Linked DNA regions of Homo sapiens: regions 1 and 3 are each linked to region 2. The links are contacts of gene promoters, found by promoter capture Hi-C in blood cells and fetal thymus (Javierre and others, 2016). All regions are on one chromosome and are shown on one strand. Each heading gives the region's core, a stretch centred on a gene start or on the middle of the fragment in contact. The rest is flanking DNA. Distances are from core to core; before and after follow the strand shown. Region 1 overlaps MSH3 (mutS homolog 3). Region 2 holds the start of MTX3 (metaxin 3). Region 3 holds the start of JMY (junction mediating and regulatory protein, p53 cofactor).

Evidence for each region. Contacts are between HindIII fragments. The CHiCAGO score rates a contact against its expected background, and 5 or more counts as called.
Region 1: a contact is called between a fragment that was not itself captured here and the fragment with the promoter of MTX3 in region 2, in 1 of 17 cell types (total B cells). The highest score is 5.4, in total B cells.
Region 3: a contact is called between the fragment with the promoter of JMY here and the fragment with the promoter of MTX3 in region 2, in 2 of 17 cell types (naive CD8 T cells and fetal thymus). The highest score is 5.6, in naive CD8 T cells.

What each region holds. Positions count from the first base shown.
Region 1 is chr5:80,665,830-80,669,129 of GRCh38, reverse strand. All of the region lies in intron 3 of MSH3 (mutS homolog 3), which reads right to left. Among named protein-coding and RNA genes, the nearest start is that of DHFR, 12 kb to the right of the region's middle. RefSeq lists enhancers at 403-971, 972-1,539. The HindIII fragment of the contact is 574 bases long and covers 1,381-1,954 here.
Region 2 is chr5:79,989,979-79,993,081 of GRCh38, reverse strand. It overlaps MTX3 (metaxin 3), which reads left to right and starts at 1,820. Exons shown (of 9, transcript NM_001363818.2): 1 at 1,820-1,924; 2 at 2,419-2,488; 3 at 2,846-2,922. The coding sequence starts at 1,844. It also overlaps a transcript of THBS4 not described here. RefSeq lists an enhancer at 2,153-2,322. The HindIII fragment of the contact is 4,262 bases long and covers 1-2,735 here.
Region 3 is chr5:79,234,304-79,237,503 of GRCh38, reverse strand. JMY (junction mediating and regulatory protein, p53 cofactor) reads right to left here and starts at 1,373. Exons shown (of 11, transcript NM_152405.5): 1 at 1-1,373. The coding sequence starts at 853. It overlaps LOC124901011 (a long non-coding RNA gene), which reads left to right and starts at 1,481. Exons shown (of 2, transcript XR_007058836.1): 1 at 1,481-1,693. RefSeq lists silencers at 1-138, 422-691, 862-1,301, 1,332-1,381, 1,422-1,471 and enhancers at 1-231, 283-919. The HindIII fragment of the contact is 5,598 bases long and covers 1-1,890 here.

The DNA.
Region 1 (3,300 bases), core at 418-2,917, 680 kb before region 2:
AAAAAAACTCAATTTATTTGAACAGTGCAGTCCAGCAAACCTCCAAAGATCAGCAATAAGAAGACGGTGAGGCATGGAGAGGTTGGCAAGAGAAATCCAGGTCATTATGATGGCAATGGCAGCCCATCTGGAGCAGCCACTGCCGTAACGCCAGCTGCAGTAGGAGAGGCGCAGCCAGGGCTGCATGCTCCACAGAACCGACAGGAGCCAGAAATGGGTGGAAGAAGCCTCGCCCCCTTCTGAGTTGGCAGGGTGAGAGCCTCACGCTCCCTGGGCACAGCTGTGGCTGCCCAGTTGTGGCTGCAAACCTGGGCATCCCTGTGCTCTTGGGGGCTGGGAGCAGGCAGGAGCCCCACCCTCCTGGGTGCAGCTGCAGCCACAGCCACCCAAGCTGTGGCTGTGGACCCGGGCATCTCTGCAATCTCAAGGGCCCAGAAAGGGAATTCCCCCTCCCTCTGCAGGCTCAGAAGTACCTGCTCCGACTGCCTGGCCTCTCCCAGCTCCCAGCACCCACTCTGATCTCAAAGTTAAGGCCAAGCCTAGGAACTGTTGCAACCTGGCTGGGTGTGCACATGCTCAGGGCAGTGCTAACATGCCAGCCCCCTGCTGCCTCGGCCCCCTCTGGACTTTGGACACTGATGAACATGGGAAGGAGGCCAAGGAGAGGGCTGAGGGCAGCTCAGAGCTGTCCTGCAGGTGCCCCATGGCACAAACAGCCTGGGTGCCATGGATGACGGCAGGAGGCAGACAGGCTCCTGAGCAGAAAGGGTCAGGTCCGGGTGAAGCCCCACCTTCAAGCCAGGAACAGCCTGAAGCCTGGGGGCCAGGCTGACGAACCAGAATTAGAACTTACGGTGTTTTCTGAGCCCGCCCATGGCAGCCCATGAACCAATCAGCACACACTTCCTCCTCTCAAGCCCATACAAATCCCCAGACTCGGCCAAACTTGAAGAGACAAGCAGACAACCTGCCTGCGGAGAGGAGCTACCCACTCCAGGGTCCCCTCTCGGCTGAAGGCTCATCACTTCTCACTTGATGGGATGCCCTGCCTGCAGAAAGAAGCACCCACTGCGGGTCTCCCCTCAATGTTCTGTCACTCAAGGAAGCCCCTCTTTGCCTTGCTCACCCTCCACTCGTCCACATACTTCATTCTTCCTGGAAGCAGGACAAGAACCTGGGACCCACCGAATGGCAGGGCTAAAAGAGCTGTAACACAAACAGGCCTGAAACCCATCTCTTGCTTGCCACATTGCAGCAACAAGAAGGAGAGAAGACAGGAGAGAAGAGCTGTGGACCTCTGGGGAGCTCAGACCTAGGGGCTCCTAAGCCAGGTCTATGACACCCTCTCTGGGGCTCTGCAGTTCCTGGAATCTCCAAGCTTCTGGGCGCCACTGTGTTCCCTGGTGCCAGCTGTGGAAGCTGTTTGTGGTACGCCTGGTCCAGCCCTCACTCACGCTGGCACCTGGAGCTGCCCACCCTGCCGAAGCCAGCATGCCTGGCAGTGCACAGGGGCCAGACCCCATGGTCACCTGCTCACACACCCCTCACCCTCACCACTCCACTCCTGGCTCACCCTTGGCAGCTGCGAGATTCAGGCCAAAAGCAAAAGCCAAGCACAGCCTGCCAGGCCGAGTGGGAGGAATGAGCCCAGCAGGCCCAAGTAAAAACTCGGGCAAAGGCACCACCAGCCACAGAGGTTTACAGCTGGCGAAGCAACACCCCAAGGATTGCATAACAATTTTCCTATACCTAAGAATGCCTTTGCTTTTAATTTTGATGAGTTTCCTATTTTGTTTCCATGACTTTTATGTCATGGAATATAGTATGTATTCTATATTAAATGCAGGTATATACTATGTAGTATAAAAGTTAATCAACACAGAAAATATATTTCTTACATTGTAAAAACTTATTCTTACTTTATACTTTATTCTTTTAGGAAATGAGATAAGCTTCCAGGAAAAAAAAGTTTTATCCTTATGGGATGCTAACAATTAAATCAATCTAAATACTTGAATATTAAGCAACTTTTTTTTAACTTTCATTTTAAGTTCAGGGGTACATGTGCAGGTTTGTTATATAGGAAAACTTGTGTCATGAGGGTTTGTTGTACATATTAATACCTGGGTAACAAAATAAGCAACTTTAAAAAAAATGATTTGGATAGAAATACTCATCAGATACATTACATTCTATTTCATATTCCCAGAGACAGTATGCTGAACTCAATTTAACCTTGTCTGGACAATTCAGAGTGATCAGAATATATTTCGAAACCTATTGAGAGTTATGGCATTGCTGACCCCACCCTAATGGTCCTGGACCATGGGGCATTTATGTTCACTCAGTAGCTTTTTGCCATTCATCCACGTCTATCCATGCCATCAAACAGCTTATCACCTGTAATAATGGCACTGCTTCTACGTGCCCCCTCTGTCTACTTACTTCTAATTTCCTGTGATGTGGACATGCCAAGTTGGTCATTCTATGTATAAAGCAATAATGTATACGCTCTTCTGAGACCTTGGAGTAAATGCTCCTATCAATAAAGTGAGCTTTAATGGATAAACTTTATGACTTCTATGCTTAATAACCACTATACTTAGGTGAACTGCTTCTAAGTATTAAAAGAGACTAAAAACAAAAACACCTTTTTTTTCTTGATGATCTAAGATAAGTCAATCAATATTAGCCTGGCTGAGGGAGGAGTTCATGGATCTGGGCTTTGTGGGAAAGGTGTGAAATCTTGAAAATTATAGGCAAAATTTTGTTGGCTTGAGAATTTTTCTGAAGAAAAAGGCCAACAGCTTTCATTAGAATTTCAATGACTCATATATATACATACACACATACATATACATATATAGAACCATTTCTCTAATTCAATGGTTGTCAATCACAGCTACAGATTAAAATGACTGCTTTTCCTTTAGTCTCACCTCATCTGCAGGCTAAGGTGGGAGGATTGCTTGAGACCAGAAGTTTGAGACTACAGTGAACTATAATCGCACAACTGTACTCTAGCCTGGACAACAGAGCAAGACTCCATCAATAAAAATAAAATACAAAATAAAATGTAAACTTTTAAAAAATATCCATGCCCATTTGTCAGTGAAAACCAATTAGATAAGATTCTGAGGGAAGGTTCTTAATGGCAATTTTTGTTTGAAGTTCTCCAGGTGATTCCAATGTAAAGCTAAGGTTGCGAACCAATCACTATTCTGAATTACAGATTTCAATGATGGAGCATGAGTTAAATTCCCTGATTCTGCAGTTATGAAAACCATTAAAAGTCTCAAA
Region 2 (3,103 bases), core at 571-3,070:
TCACTCCTCTCAGTCCTGCTACAAACAAGGCTCAGGAAATCCACATTCTTTCTGTATGATTGTTTTAAATGCCTGAATGTAGTATATGGACCCTCAGCTTTATGGCTTAGGATTTTCTTTCCCCCTGCCTTGCCTTTGTCAGTCTATGGTTTGACATTTCTAACCCTCAAAACAGGGAGGTTCCATTACAATCTGAAAGTTGAATTACTTTACTTTCTTTATACTGAAGACTCAACAGATAGTCTCCACTGATCACACAGAGGATGCACTGTCCCTCCTTTGTGTTTCTGTAGTATTTTGCTTATATTTCTAACCCTACTCGTGATTATCTGACTTGTTACACCTTGGTGTGTGTATATCTCCTTTGTGCACTGTAAACTCCCGAGGACAGAATTCATGTTTTATATATTTCTGTATTGTTCCAGAACCTTATGATGTCTAAGACATAGGAGCTGCTCAATAAATGTTTCGACAGTTTTAATGGTACATATGTTATGCATTTTCCAATTATACAGTTATTATTAATGAATTCTCATTTCTGACATATCTCTTTTTCATTTCTTAGAACTCTTGGTTTTGAAACATGTAAAAAAGACTTTAGCAGGCTGGCACTGTAATTTGAATGATTATGTAAACAGTAAGGGAGTGCCTAGCAAATATTTGTTGAATAGTAATTTTACGAAAAGTTGCAGAGGTTTCTTTTGAGTTTTAGTTAAGAAGATCCGACCATCTCAGTGGAATAGAGGAAAGAACTCAGAGGCATGACTGCGAGGGTGTCCCAGAAAGACTACTGTGCCTTCTAGAAAAAAGACCCAGCACCCAAGTTCTAACTCTGAGACCCAGTCATATGTTTGGATCATAGCATTTCCAAGACCAAAATTTCCTCTTTAATAGTTTTTCTGAGAAACTGTCAGGTTTAACGTCAAGAAACATTTAGTCTGTGCTCATTAGGCCCACAGACATGACGAGCTACATGATTTGAGGGGCCCAGTCCAAAATAAAAATGCAGAGCCCCTTGTTCAAAACTTAAGAATTTCAAGACAGTGACGGAAGAGCATCAGCCAAATGAGGAGCCTTTTTAAGCACAGAGCCTTGTGTGGCTGCACAGGTCCCAAACCTATGAAGCTAGCCCTCTTCTGTGAAAGGCAAAAGGTCTGTAGCTAGGGAGAGAAGCTACAATTCAAATATGCACAAGGGGCTACAAGAACCCAGAGCTCCTAACTTTGTAAAAACATCACAGGGAAGGTGAGTTAAGCTCATTTTTGAGGGAGCAGCTGCATAGGGAAGAAAGATATTCCAGATTGAAGGACCAGCACTGAAGGTGGGCACAATTTACCTGACGTTCAGAAATACTGTAACTTTTAAGCAGGGTTGTGCCAGTGAACATGAGGGTGAGAACAGGTTGAGGCTGGAAAGGCAGGCAGAGGCCACATACATGGGAGAAGGGGTTGAACAATTACTGAGTGCCTCCTGTGTGCCAAGTTCTTTCTCTCCGACATTGTAAATACCACAATCTTGTAAATACTGGGTCATCCCTGTTTTACAAACAGGTTAATTTAGGCATCACACAGATTTAATGTTCAAAGGGTTTGGAACACTCTAGGGATCTAATAAATATTAATATTTGAAGAATTACTGGTGGGTCTGACTTAAGGCACACAACTCTTACCCTTTAGGCCAAGCTGCTCCTAAGAGTTCTTCTTAATCCCTCCAGTCGTTGTTTCTCTCATCTCTCAAGAGCCCCCAAATTACCCTTCCCTCCCTTAGCCACGCCCCCGCGTTTCACGTGCCGGAAATTAGGAGGAAAAGTACTTCCGGGATAGTAAAGGTCGGCCCGCGCAAGATGGCGGCCCCCTTGGAACTCAGTTGCTGGGGAGGCGGCTGGGGACTCCCATCGGTTCACAGCGAGTCCCTGGTGGTGATGGTGAGGCCGCCTCGCGGGCCAGGGCGCAGGAGGAAGGGGCGGGGCTGGAGGCGCCAGGCTGACTTGCCCCAGTTTCCCGCTGCGCTGCGGGGTCCAGGAGGGCCGAGCCGCTGCACGCTGCATTGCCCTGGGCTCCCTCCCACCGACGAGTCCCAACCTGGCCGATACCCCCGCCGAAGGCCGGCGGCGACATCAAGGCTTCTCCGCTTGGCTCCGAGTTTTGTCCGCCTCACAAAGCTGTCTGGGCGGTGGAGTGAAACCCCGAAGCAAGGGGCGCGCCCTCCCTACTCTGCATCCCCAGGACCTTTTGGGGAGCAAAGTCCTCGAAAGCCGGGTGGCTGGCGCCCGCGTCCCTACTTGAGATCACGGGGAGGGATGCGGCCTCAGTATCAGTCGCCTTCTGCCTTTGGGGGATGGGGCTGTGAAGTAAAGCTGCTCTGCAGCTTTGCATTACGCACTTGGTCTAAAATGTTTGATTGCAAACTCTGTTTCAGGCTTATGCCAAATTTTCTGGTGCACCCTTGAAAGTCAATGTGATAGATAACACCTGGAGAGGTTCAAGAGGTATAGTGTAAACCTTTACACTCCCCTTTCTGCACTCTTTTTTTTCTTCTTCCATTTAAAGCTGTGAGGTATATAGCTATAATATTGAGGATTTAGTTTCTTACCGTGACCTTGGCTCTGTGTTGTTTATGGTTTGATCATTCTGAGTAATACCTCAAAGTGCAAGCGAAATCACTGGAAATTATGAGAAACGAAAATGTTCTTTAGAACCGCTCTTTGTGAAACAGCAAAAAAACCAAGACAAGCTTACTCATTTTTTCCCCTCTAAATGTGCAACTGCTATAGTTTTTAGGATATTGGAATCTCTCAGAGGAAATCACACTGTGTCCTTGTATGTAAACTGTTTTTTGATTATAGGCGATGTACCAATTTTGACAACTGAAGACGACATGGTTTCTCAGCCAGCAAAAATACTAAACTTTTTAAGAAAACAGGTGGGTGGTTCACTTTGAAGAAGTAGATTGGTAGATTGTTGATCCCTGCATGTTGGGCTTTATTTTATTTATTTATTTTTTTTTGCCAACTCATTAGACAATTGGAGATACCTGGGACAAGATGTAAAAATAGATTTGAGAATCACTGCTCTAAAGCATGAGTTCTGTGATTTGAAAGTCA
Region 3 (3,200 bases), core at 124-2,623, 760 kb after region 2:
GAGTGTCGATTTCCTGCTCGGTCATCTCGGGGGCGCCCCCAAACAGCACAGTCCACATGCCCGAAGGTTCCTCGGGGAACACCGGCAGGCACGGCTCCAACTGCGAGTTCACCGAGCACAGCTGCTGGTGCACGGCGCGCAGGTCCTGGAAAGAAAACAGTCCGGCCCAGCTGCACTCTTCGGCCGGAGACTCCAGCTCGGTGGCGGGCGGCGGCTGCTCCGCGTCCGAGAGCGCCAGAGGTGCCTCGTCCTCCTTCACCATTTCCAGCACCTCTATCTCCTCGGAGACCGTCCCAGAGGCGCTCACTATCCGTACAGAGGACACCTGGGCCTCTCTGGGCGCCGGCCGGGCTGCTGCAGCGGCTGCCCCCGCCGCATCGTCGGCTTCAGATGTTTTCTGACCCGGGATGGGTTTGGCCCGCACTGGGCTCCTAAGACGACTCTCCGCCCCTTTGCTGCCAGGACTCCGCAGCCGCGGGTCCCCCAGAAGGCTGCGAGTGCTCCGAGGAGAGCCGCCCTCCGCCCAGGCCGAGCTCCGCCGGGGCCCGGGGCTCCTAACCAGAGTTGCAGAGGCAGTGGCCTCGGGCCGACCCCTGCCCGCCGGGCTGCCGGGCCCGCGGCTCCCGTCGGACGCAGCTCCGCCGGCCTCGGCGCCCCCTCGCGCCCCCGCTTGCTCCCGGGAGCCGCTCCTCTGCCTCTGGGCCGTCCGGTTGTGGCAGGTTATGGCAAACTTGCCCTCAATCTCGTTCCAGGCCACAATAAAGACGAATTTGTGTTTCTCGCGCTCGTCGAACACATGGGGCCGCACAGCCACCCAGTCCGACTCGAGCGTCTCCTCCAGCGCGAACGACATGGTGGCTCCGGCTTCTCGCCGCGGGGAAGGGCCGCCGGCCCGGCCCGCCCGAGGACTCCCCGCTGGCTGCGCCGCGCCCCCCGCTCACCCTCGCCGGGCGCCTTCAGCCATCTTAGTGCGCCGGCCGGCTCTCCCGGCTCGTTCGCCTGTCCCTCCGCGCCCCGACCGCCGAGCTCCTTTGTGGCGCGGATCGAGAGAAGGACAATAAGCGTCCCGGGAGCAGGTAGTTCACATGGTCACCTGCGGCCGGATCTGTTTACAAGCTCCGCGCTGCCGCAGCGCCTCGCGGCCGCCCGCCGCCCCCCGCGCGAGGCCGTGGAGCTGCGTCTGCGGCGCTCCGGTGGTGAGGCGCGGGTCCCGCGGGGTCAGGCCGGCGCTGTATGCGTCCCGGTCGCTCGCCCAGGTCAAGATCCCCGCCCCCGCCCCTGGTGCTGCTGCAGAAAGCCCGGAGCCGGCCTGACTGATGAACCCGTCTCCTAAACTCTGCGCCTCAGCATCGCCACAATGTTGCCATTCGACTGCTGACGTCGGCGGCTCCACGAGGGACGTAAACATGGGCACGTGCCGCACGCTGGTGACGCGGCGGCGGCGGCGCGCGCACCCCGCCCGCGCGCGCCGGCGCCTCCTCTCGGCGTCCCCTGAGCCAGCCCGCGAGCGGCCGCGCTCCCGACTCTCCTTCCTTCCGCGCAGCCTCCAGTTCCCCGGGGCTGGAGCCGGCTGTCGGCTGGTTGCCGGCTCCGAGGGCGATGAGAGTGGCAGGTGTGCCCTGCTGCACAGGTGGCCTCCGAACCCGGGAAAAGAGGAACTAAGGCGGAGGAACTGAGACGTTTCGAATTCCAGGTATTGAGACCCTCGAATGTACATTTGCCTCCATTCTCCTGGAGGGAGCCCGGACGGAGAGTCGCTCCTGCGTTCAGAAGTAGCGTGTTGCCGCGGGGAACGGTGTGCTGAACTATGTGGGGCTCGCCCCCAGCCTGTTAGGTTCTCCCCTAATGCCCTTGAGACCAAAACAAAAAACAAAAACAATTCCAGAAGCTTTTCTGGAAAGACAGAGTTTAATATATGAAAGGAAGGTGTCTGAGGAAAGCCCAGTAACAGTCCAAAACAAAATGAAAAATGAAAATGCCATGTCCTAACAGCATGAATGTTTACATTTCAGTTCATTGGTGTTTTATTGCTTCAGGTTTCATCATTATGTACTGTTCTGTGAACCTCGTTTTGAGGTCACTGGGCTTTAGCCCTTTTGAAGTTGTATTCAATTATGGGAGTTCCCAGAATGCATATACAAAAACAGTCATATCAATCTCTGCTATTCTTACTAAACTATGATGAAACACATTCTTAAAATTAGTAGACTTTATAATAATTATTGGCATTCTTTTTCCGATTAGTATTCAAGTCACAGATGTTGTGCACCATAGTAAAGCACAATGGAAATTAGTTCTTTTACATTTATTCACATTTCTAAAGTATATACAAAACCGTTTGGATTAGCCTTGTATTGTTAGGTTCAGTAAAAACAGCTGTTTATTCAGATGACAGAACAGTACTGAACTAGCTAAGCTTCAAACTTAGTTCAGTATTGTCCATCTTAAACTCTAAGCTTCAACACTTGGTTCAGTATTGTCCTGATATTTGAATAAACAGCCAAAAAAAATTTTTTTTTTGAGACAGAGTCTCACTCTGTGGCCCAGGCTGGAGCACAGTGGCACGATGTCAGCTTACTGCAGCCTCTGCCTCCCGGGTTCAAGCGATTCTCCTGCCTCAGCCTCCCAAGTAGCTGGGATTACAGGCACACACCACCAAGCCCGACTAATTTTTGTATTTTTATTAGAGACGGGGTTTCTTCATGTTGGCCAAGCTGGTCTCGAACTTCTGGCCTCAGGTGATCCGACCGCCTTGGCCTCTCAAAGTGCTGGGATTACAGTCGTGAGCCACTGAGCCCAGCTGGTTTTTAACATTTTGTACAGTTCATTATTTGAAACCACAAATTTTCAAAGTTTGTAACTGAGTTTGTGTCAAATCTCAAATGCAAGTCAGAGACACGTTCTGAAAGGCAAAAAAGAGAGAAAACCCATTTCAAATCTGAATTACGGGGCTGGGCATGGTGGCTGACGCCTGTAATCCCAGCACTTTGGGAGGCTGAGGTGGGCAGATCACTTGAGGTCAGGAGTTCAAGACCAGCCTGGACAACATGGTGAAACCCCGTCTCTATAAAAAATACAAAATTAGTCGGGTGTGGTGGCACGTGCCTGTAATCCCAGCTACTTGGGAGGCTGAGGCAGGAGAATTGCTTGAACCCGGGAGGCGAAGGTTGCAGTGATCTGAGATCATGCCACCGCACTCC